Linked DNA regions of Homo sapiens: region 2 is linked to region 1. The links are contacts of gene promoters, found by promoter capture Hi-C in blood cells and fetal thymus (Javierre and others, 2016). All regions are on one chromosome and are shown on one strand. The core of a region is centred on a gene start or on the middle of the fragment in contact, and the rest is flanking DNA. Distances in the headings are between cores, read along the strand shown. Region 1 holds the start of LRATD2 (LRAT domain containing 2). Region 2 overlaps WASHC5 (WASH complex subunit 5).

Region 1 (4,892 bases), core at 1,171-3,670:
TCTCATATCTTTATTTTATTTACAGACAGAGTCTCACTCTGTCACCCAGACTGGAGTGCAATGGCGTGATCTCGGCTCACTGCAACCTCTGCCTCCCGGGTTCAAGCAATTCTCCTGCTTCAGCCTCCTGAATAGCTGGAATTATAGGCGCACCCCACCACTCCCGGCTACTAATTTTGTATTTTTAATAGAGATGGGGTTTCACCATGTTGGCCAGGCTGGTCTCGAACTCCTGATCTCAAGTGATCCTGCCTTGGCCTCCCAAAGTGCTGAAATTACAGGCATGAGCCACCACGCCCAGCCAAGTCTCATATCTTTAGATTTTTCAAATGAAACTGGGAATATGAATTTTTTAATATCTCCCAAGTTTTCAAATTGTTGACAACAAGCTTAAATTTATTAAACAACTATTTGAAATGAGCAAAGCATGTCTGAGAGCCATGTTGTAATCTCTGACCAAATGTTCCAGGTGACAAGACGGATGTTGAACCCTCAACAGGCATTCATGGAAGAATCTACACTAGACGCCAGCTATCAAAAGGCAACATTTCTTCACTCACTCACTCACAGCCCCATAAAACCAGGAAGCAATTCTTGACCTGTGGCCAAATTTTCCCCTAAGGCATCCATCAAGCATTTATTGAGTACCCACTCAGTGCCAGGCATTCAGATATAAAATGGATCAGGGCTTGTTCCCTCTGAGGCTTTATAGTTGGTCAGTTCAAGATATGTTGTTGAGCCACTATTGTGCACCTGAGAACAGCTCATCAAGACAAAAGGAGACACACCTAGTCAGCTAGGCATTGCTTCCTCACCCACCAGATCTCTGACCTAGAGTGCTGGTAGCAAATTGTCCTACAACTGTGTCCTCTCAGTTCAATTCTCCCATTCCCAGCCATCCCAGTAGCACCTAGGAGCAAAGTGGCCTCCCAAATCAGGCAGTAGCAGAGGTCTCCCAATCTGATGAACATAGGATGACCAGCCATAATCTCTATAAGCCTAACTCTTGTCTATAATATGGTGATCATATGATGGCAACAAATATCACTCAGGTAACAGCAGCCCCCCACACCATTTGCTATCAAAAGGACTGGGGTGTGTTGGATTCATTCAGTCACATGCGCCTGAGGCCAGCCAGTCTGAAATTATTGAAACAGAATCGCACAGCACACAGTAGTCTCATGTTGATCTAACTTATACTTCAGACTTGCTGAAGGACTAATTTCTATCACAGCCCTGCCAATATTGATTGTTTGGACTCAAAATTACATAAGTAGAATGATTTTTATTTTTTTCTCCTAAACTAGAAAGGATCACAGTAGTGCTAGTATATTCCTGTTTCCACTGGCTGGTTATACATGCTGGAAAAAATTAGTCAAAAGAAAGCAACTGAAGACAGAATATAGGTCTTGAATCGCATTCTTAAGTCCCCTACGAATAAGTCTGGGTGCTTGCAGTAGTGCCTAAACTTGTTTATTGTAAACAGAGCTGTTAATCCTCCACCCTCACCGGACCCATTATTTTAAAAAAATAAACAACAACAACAACAAAAAAAACACTTTGGTAGCCTACATTTAGGTAAAAGAAACGAAACCAGTGGAGAGGTGGAAGTGTCCTTTTGTGGTGGAGGTTAGTAGGCATTACTGGTCTCCTGTCACTTCCCTAAGTCAACAGGAAGGAAATATATCCACTAGGGCCTCTGCTAATTTGTTTCTAATTTAAGGACAATTAGAATTAGGATGTAGGAATTAGGCAATTCCTACATCCCCTAACCCCCCACCCCCCCAAAAAAAAGCAGTCAGAGCTGCACGCTTCTCTCACTATCCAACGAACTGGTACCTCTCTGGAAATAACGGAGGTTATGAACTTTGTACTAACTTCCAGGGGTATCTAATAAACAGAGCGGTGGTCTTGGGACCCAGTCAGTGAATAAGTCTTCGTTCTGTTTTATACTGTTTCTTTTCTGCGATTTTCTTTTCTACCCCAAAGTTTCCCACTACTAACTCTGAAAACACCTCTAGGATGACGCACTCTTCGAGCTGTCCTGGTGAAGAATCCTTTCTTGTGACCTTTAGGGCAAGAAATATGTTCCAGGAAAGAAAAGAAACGACTGTTCCTCCTTCTCCAGGTACTCTGGGAAAAAACAGGTCAAAGGGAAAAGGCGCAAACACCAAACTCTCCTTCCCTTTCTCATTTCCACACTGGCAAGTTGTGTTTGCCTTCTAACTTGTCTCGGAAGGCAAGCAGAGCTCACAGCACCAGCCCCAGGCGGCGGGTGGATTATTTACAGGGGGATTTAAACCCGCTCCGGCGCGGGGGCGTGGCCGGGCGGAGTCCCGAGGCCCGAGTGGGCGGGGCGGGGGCGGGGCTCCCGGCCGCTCGGCGCAATGTGAAAAAGACCCGAGCTCGGGGAGTGAGCGCCTGTCTCTTTAAATGCCACGGGCTGCGCTCCCGCCCGGGAGCCCGGAGCCGGATCTACAATCCCGTCCCTCCAGCTCCGGTGCTTGTTGCTCGCCCGGCCCAAGCGGGAGCTGTTGCCGCCAGGCTGCGAGGCTGCCGTCCTCTCCTCCTCGCGCCCCACCTCCCCCGAGAGCTGGCTGAGGAGGGGCAGCAGCCCCAGCTGGCGGGAGGAAGCGCGGTGTGAACAGGGATTGCCCCCCGCCTTCAAGTATCGGGGCGCTACGCAGCCGCGGGGGAAAGACATGCCCCTAGTCTGCCCGCTGCGCTGCCCTCTGCCCAGCCTCGCTGCCGCCCGCGCCGGGAGAGGAGGGACTGCCGAGCCTACACCTTCAAACTCGCCCTAGAAGTCTCGGGGCGCGGCAGGGAGCCCTTCCCCAGGCCCCACGGCCTTCACCTCTCCGCGGGTGAGTTTGTGCAGGTAACCCGAGCCTGAGGGCGGGCGCGGGGGAAGGGCGGGCGAGCCGGGAGGAGGTAGCGCTGCAGGTGAGCCAGGTAGGGTGACTCACCTGTCCAGGTCGCGCTCTGAGATCCTCGCTTGTTCCTCTGGGGATGGATGCGTTGGTGGGGAGGAGGCGTCCCCGGGGCTAGTTAGGGCCCGAGGGTGGGAGGGGAAGTTAGCAGAGGAGGGGGGGGATTGGCGTAAAGTTTCTCTTTCCTTCCCTCTTCCTGCCCAAGCTTGGCAGGTAGGGCGCAGGCGGAAGCAGTAGAAGCTGCTGATGCAATGGGCTTTTGCCAGGGCCAGGCGAAGGGCTGGGGACAGGGAGAACAGGAGTTGCCCAGTCTCCTGTGACCGTGACCTTACAGGTGGAGAAACGAGGGAAAGCTCGCTACACCCGAGACTTCCCCCTAAAATGGCTCCAGGTGCTGAGCCCCCACCGATTCTTTTTCGGAACAAAACGCCCTTTTCACGGAGGGGCTCCTGCATGGCTTTCTTGCCTTCCTCTCCCAACAGGTAGCCTCAGCCCCTGTCCGGGGACCTGTGCAAATGACCCTGGAGTTGGTTTCGCTTTCTCCCCTTGCGGCGGTGTGAACGTGTGTCCGCAGCGTGATGGGCAACCAGGTGGAGAAATTGACCCACCTAAGTTACAAGGAAGTTCCCACGGCCGACCCGACTGGCGTGGACCGGGACGACGGGCCCCGCATTGGGGTCTCCTACATTTTCTCCAATGACGATGAGGACGTGGAGCCGCAGCCGCCGCCTCAGGGGCCAGATGGCGGCGGCTTGCCCGACGGTGGGGACGGGCCGCCGCCGCCCCAGCCGCAGCCCTACGATCCGCGGCTGCACGAGGTGGAATGCTCCGTGTTCTACCGGGACGAATGCATCTACCAGAAGAGCTTCGCGCCGGGCTCGGCGGCGCTGAGTACCTACACGCCCGAGAACCTGCTCAACAAGTGCAAGCCGGGCGATCTGGTGGAGTTCGTGTCGCAGGCTCAGTACCCGCACTGGGCCGTATATGTGGGTAACTTCCAGGTGGTGCACCTGCACCGGCTGGAGGTGATTAACAGCTTCCTGACTGACGCCAGCCAGGGCCGTCGCGGCCGCGTGGTCAACGATCTGTACCGCTACAAGCCGCTAAGCTCCAGCGCCGTGGTGCGCAACGCGCTGGCGCACGTGGGTGCCAAGGAGCGCGAGCTGAGCTGGCGCAACTCGGAGAGTTTCGCCGCCTGGTGCCGCTACGGCAAGCGCGAGTTCAAGATCGGCGGCGAGCTGCGCATCGGCAAGCAGCCCTACCGGCTGCAGATTCAGCTGTCGGCGCAGCGCAGCCACACGCTCGAGTTCCAGAGTCTAGAGGACCTGATCATGGAGAAGCGACGCAACGACCAGATCGGGCGCGCGGCCGTGCTGCAGGAGCTCGCCACGCACCTGCACCCGGCGGAGCCGGAGGAGGGCGACAGCAACGTGGCGCGGACTACGCCGCCTCCCGGGCGCCCCCCTGCGCCCAGCTCCGAGGAGGAGGACGGAGAGGCAGTGGCACACTGATGGGCGAGCTGAGCGCAGAGCTGCGAAGGGGAACTGTTTGCAGTAGCAGCCGCTGCTCCCTTTCTCCCTCTCTTCCTCCCTCTTTTGCCACTGTCTGGGCCCCATCTGGGATTCCTGGGCCCTTTGGAAAAGAGTTGGTGAAATGCGCAGCCGGCTGTGGACGGGGGAGGAGGAAGGGGACAGAGGGAGCAGGTAGGAAACACTTTAGTTGGGGGTGGGGGGCGTCTCCCTCTGGCCCCCTGTCTGTCTTCCTCTCCGCGGTGGAGCAAACTGTGGACTTGCCTGGCACTTAAACCTTGGTAGATCTGGGTTTATAATCGGCCATTCTTAAGCACGTGGGGTTGGGGGAAAGTTCGGAGTACCCATTCCTGCCGTTGCTTCCTATCCTGGGCTTGGAAGAATCCTGGTAGAAAGGCCAGAGTGGGTTTGTGGAGTCGCCACTGCGGGACCA
Region 2 (4,892 bases), core at 1,259-3,758, 1.5 Mb after region 1:
CCTGTTAGAGATCAGTGTGGTTTAACAAGCAAGTATCACAGAGGAAACTAAAAGAACTTGTTAATAATGTATGCCTTAATGTGTATTACAGGGTACCTTCATGGGAGTTCTAGACAGCTGTAGTGGCTTCTTGGCTCTCAGATCCAATCCAGTCTACTTCTTCTGTTTCCGCCCCTAGCTGACTCTGCTCCAGCCACTTTAGCCACCTTGCTAGCCATCTAGCACATTCCTGCCCTGGGGCCTTTGCACTTACTTGTAACCTCTGCTTGGGATGCCATTATTAGGATCATTATCTATTGCTGCATAATAAACTATGCCAGAACCCAGTGGCTTAAGACAATAAGCTTTATAGCATCTATGGTCCGGAGGGTAGGGCATAGCTGGCTGCCTTTGGCTCTGGGGCTTTTAGAACATTGCAGTCAGGCTGGGAACAAGGAGCTATGGTCTTATCTGAAGGCTGGACTGGGATTATAAGGGATCTACTTTCAAGTTCACTCAGGTGGTTTTTGGCAAGCCTCAGTTCCTTGTCATATGGGCTTCTCCCCAGGGCTCTCTCACACCATGATATGTTGCTTCCCCTGGACTAGCAAGCTACAGAGGGTGCCCAAGCCAGAAGTTAGTCTTTTCGAAATCTAATCTCAGAAGTGCACTGTATCTTTTGTTTCTATCCTATTTCCTTCCCCCCCTCCCCCTTTTTTTTTTTTGAGATGAAGTCTCACTCTGTCACCCAGGCTGGAGTGCAGTGGTGCAATCTCGGTTCACTGCAACCTCCGCCTCCTGGGTTTAAGCAATTCTCCTGCCTCAGCCTCCCGAGTAGCTGGGATTACAGGTTTTTGCCACCATGCCTGGCTAATTTTTGTATTTTTAGTAGAGCCGGGGTGATCCCGGCTCTCCTAACCTCAGGTGATCCATGTGCCTCAGCCTCTCAAAGTGCTGGAATTACAGGAGTGAGTCACCACACCTGGCCCTATTCTCCTCTTTAGGAGGGAGTCAGTAAGTCAGCTTATACTCAAGGGAAGGAACCTACATAGAACATGAATACCAGGAGGCAGAGATCATTAGGGACCACTTTAGAAAGCTGCTGACCATACCCAGATATCCATACTGCTTGCTCTCTCATTTCCTTCTGACTTCTGCCCGAGGTGCTCTATGGAAACTAGCATATGCCCCATCCTTTATTATGTTTTTTCTTCACGGCACTTATCACAGCCTAATATATAAAGCTCATTTTCACAAATTTCAAGATACATTTGTAATCAAAACTTTTTCTTCTCCTTTTTATGAAACATTTTTCTGTATTTTGTAATCACTCTAGCATTTTTCAGATATGAACTATTCTTAATAGCAAGAATCTCCTATACTTGACATGTGAGAAAATTTTTTTTTTTTTTTTTTTTTGAGAGAGGGTCTCATTGTCACCCAGGCAAGAGTGCAGTGGCACGATCATGGCTCACTGCAGCCTCAACCTCCAGGGCTCAAGCAATCCTCCCACCTCAGCCTCCCTTGTCACTGGGACTACAGGCTCGCACCACCATACCTGACTGATATTCTTTTGATTTTTAGTAGAGACAAGGTCTCGCTATTGTTGCCCAGACTGGTCTTGAACTCTTGAGCTCAAGCATTCCTCCTACCTTGGCCTTCTAAAGTACTAGGATTACAGGTGTGAGCCACCGTTGCCAGGCCTAAAAACATTTCTAAAGATTGTTCCCTCACCTACTTGTTGTTCCCTCACCGACTTCTAGTGGTTTTTAGGACATAGCTCTCTTTTTCCAAAGATAAGACAAATGGCACAATTCCTGTAAGGAAATTGCAATAATCAGCGGAAGCAGAGAACTGAAAAGATGGGGATTGGAGGAAAATGCAGTAGTACAATACAGAAATAGCTACATGGACATTATTATACAAAAGCAATGACTATATTGCACAGCATTATAGAAAATGAAATATCACAATAACAGCATCAGCATGCTGTTTAAATTGACAACTTGTACTGTTAGTCCTCAAAACTGAATCTCAGCACTATGGCAAACTACCCCAAGACTTATTTGCCCAAAACAATACAATATGTTAAAAATTTATCATGATCCTGTGCATTAGGAATTGGGAAAAGGCACAGAGGGCTTTGCTGGCTGCAGAAGCCGAATAGCCTCATCCCTTATATGTCTAGCACTTCAGCTAGGAAGACTTAAAGAGCTGGGGGCTGAGTGGACCAGGTCAACCCAAGTCACACGTCGGCACTTCAGTTTCTGCTGTCTGCTGGCTTTCTTCATTCTCTTCTGTGTCAGGACTTTTCCCTCTCAGCATGGTCTTTCCTCTTTGTAACTCCTGTGATCTCTCTAGCAAGATACCCAGACATCTTACATGGCAGCTTCGGACACCCAAAGAGAGCAAAAGGAGATACTGCCAGGCCTTCTCAAGGCTTAGGCCTGGAATTGGTAGAGAGTTAATTCTACAGTATTCTTTGGGTTGAAGGAAGGAAGGCACAAGCTGTTATGAGCTGAGTTGGGTCCCCCCAAAATTTATATGTTGAATTCCTAACACTCAGTAGCTCAGAATGTGACTATATTTGGAGACAGGATTTTTAAGGCGGTGGTTAAGTTAAAATGAAGCCACTAGGATAGGCCCTAATCCAATATGACTGGTATCTTTGTATGAAGAGGAAATTTGGACACAGAAATTTACAAAGGAGGGCCAGGCTTGGTAGCTCATGCCTGTAATCTCAGCACTTTGGGAGGCTGAGATGGGAGGATTGCTTGAGCCCAGGAGTTTGAGACTCCCCTGGGCTACATAGTGAGACTCCCATCTCTATACAAAGAAATGAGCAATGGGGTGGCCATGCGAAGACACAGGAGGAAAATAGCTGGCTACAAGCCAGTGAGAGAAGCCTGAGAAGAAAACAGTCCTACCAACACCTTGATCTTGAAGTTCTCGCCTCCAGAATTGTGACAAAATAAATGTGGTTGTTTAAGTCACCCTCTCTGTGGTGCTTTGTTACGGCAGCCCAGCAAACTAATAAAATGCAATCCAGACTCATTGAGAGGGAAAATAAGGTTCAGCCCTTCACTTAAGGTGCTGTATGGGCTGACTTCATGGCAAGGAATTGTTGGGAGCCATCTTTGGCAACCAGTTACCACATTATTATAATCAGATTGCTTTCCAAGCCCCTAGAACTAAGAAAAATGATTGTTGCAGGGGAAGGCACACAGGCCTGAACAAGAAGGGGTACTCAAGTCTGTGGGCAGAGGGGAATGTAAGAAGGAGTAGCGTAATGAGACAAATTACCTACTTCAAGAACTTTCTGAAACCTCATCAAGTCCGAGGAGTTATTTCATTTGTGTAAGTCTTTCTCGCTTCCTTCTCCAGTTGCCCTTCGCCTTCTACCATCTGCTCACCCCTGCTATCTGCACTGGCTGTAGGAGGAAGCTAGTGGGAAGGAAAGGGATGGGTCAGGAAGCAGTTTTATCGAGAGTCTCTGTGTTACAGAAGATGCTTAGAAGGCACAACCTGGGTAGTGACATGCTCAAAGACTTATGTGTACAGGAAAACATCACATGTATGTTTTGTTGGTTGGTTGGTTTTCATTCCTAGTGACATCTTTTTTTCCCTTTTCCTTGTTACTTGGCTTCTGCCTCCGCTTCTCTCTCTGTTCTCTCTTTGACAGCTTGTGAGATCCCTTTGCATGTTTTAGAAATCAACCCTGTGTCTGCCCTTTGGATTTCAAATCCATCTTCTAAGTCATTTACCATGGAAAAGTTTTTAAGTGTTACATACTAAAATAGGTCATTCTTTTTAGATGCTAGGTTTCTTTCTCTAGCCCCGAATTCCTAGATGTCACTTTACTAAAGATCACCCAGTATAAGAATACCTTTCCCAACAGAACACCTAATAAATGCTCCATACTGACAATTAAATGTATGTTACACTTCTTATTTCTTTATTGTAAAGACACACTGAAGCACTTCATCTCTCTGATTTTTTTTCTTCAGGGCTCATCTCCAGCAGTATAGCAGGCAGCTAGAGAGGACAGACATCACCTCTTGTAACCCTAGTATTATTTATGCACTCCTTATACTTGTCAGTGCCAAGGAATGAGTTCAGCACAAAGGGCACAAAGATAAATATTGTTAATTTCCTGTTTGCCTGCTGCAGTTTTCTATAAGACCAGTCATTCTCTACTCTTTTAATGATCCTGGCTTCACATCAGAATCATCCGGGGAGATTCTTAAAAACAGAGATGCTTAGGACTACCTCTAACCTACTTACCAGAAACTCTAAGATGCTAGGTGATTCCCTTAAGCAGCCAGGCTTGAGAACCACTGGACTAGAAGGTGAGATGTTTAAACATCTTCATATCCAGCCTGGCAAAGAGGTATTCAGCAAGGAGTGGTTGGGTAAAGATCAATCCTTGCCTTCAAGAACTTTCAGAATGAGCTGTAAGCAACGATAATATTCAGTATGCTAAGTGATCTAACCATCCTCAGAGAGTGCATTGGAATACAAGAGAAGCAAGTAATGGATTCTGCTAACAGTGCTAGATACCTAAGTGCTGAATTTTATGAGACTTTTGGACCAGTTTGATTTAGTATTTATAAATCATCTTCACAGAATTTTGCAGAACCTAGCATCTGTAATTTTAAAAGGAATCTTGGACATGTTCTTACCTTAAGCTTGCAGTTCCATTTCTGGGAAATAATTGGACAAATGCCTCAAAATGATGTACAGGGATTTGTCTCTGAGCTCTCTTTATAGCGTTTGAAATTATTTGCTAATATATCAAATAGTAGGAGATAGCTTGTATAATCAGGGTACATTGGAACCACACATGCCCAGTGGTTCCTTCTCCCTAGCACAGAGATGAGCTGTATCATATCTTTTTCTCAAGAGAAGTGACT

What was found. The method cuts DNA at HindIII sites, captures the fragments that hold promoters and counts their contacts. A CHiCAGO score of 5 or more calls a contact.
Region 2: a fragment that was not itself captured here is called in contact with the fragment with the promoter of LRATD2 in region 1 in 1 of 17 cell types (fetal thymus); the score reaches 5.1 in fetal thymus.

The regions. Positions count from the first base shown.
Region 1 is chr8:126,556,006-126,560,897 of GRCh38, reverse strand. LRATD2 (LRAT domain containing 2) reads left to right here and starts at 2,420. Exons shown (of 2, transcript NM_174911.5): 1 at 2,420-2,864; 2 at 3,413-4,892. The coding sequence starts at 3,509. The coding sequence ends at 4,441. LOC105375751 (a long non-coding RNA gene) reads right to left here and starts at 3,022. Exons shown (of 6, transcript NR_188069.1): 1 at 2,967-3,022. RefSeq lists silencers at 2,288-2,467, 4,356-4,475 and enhancers at 2,182-3,018, 3,996-4,145. The HindIII fragment of the contact is 2,746 bases long and covers 392-3,137 here.
Region 2 is chr8:125,084,237-125,089,128 of GRCh38, reverse strand. The region is part of intron 1 of WASHC5 (WASH complex subunit 5); the gene reads left to right. Among named protein-coding and RNA genes, the nearest start is that of WASHC5, 5.1 kb to the left of the region's middle. The HindIII fragment of the contact is 4,323 bases long and covers 347-4,669 here.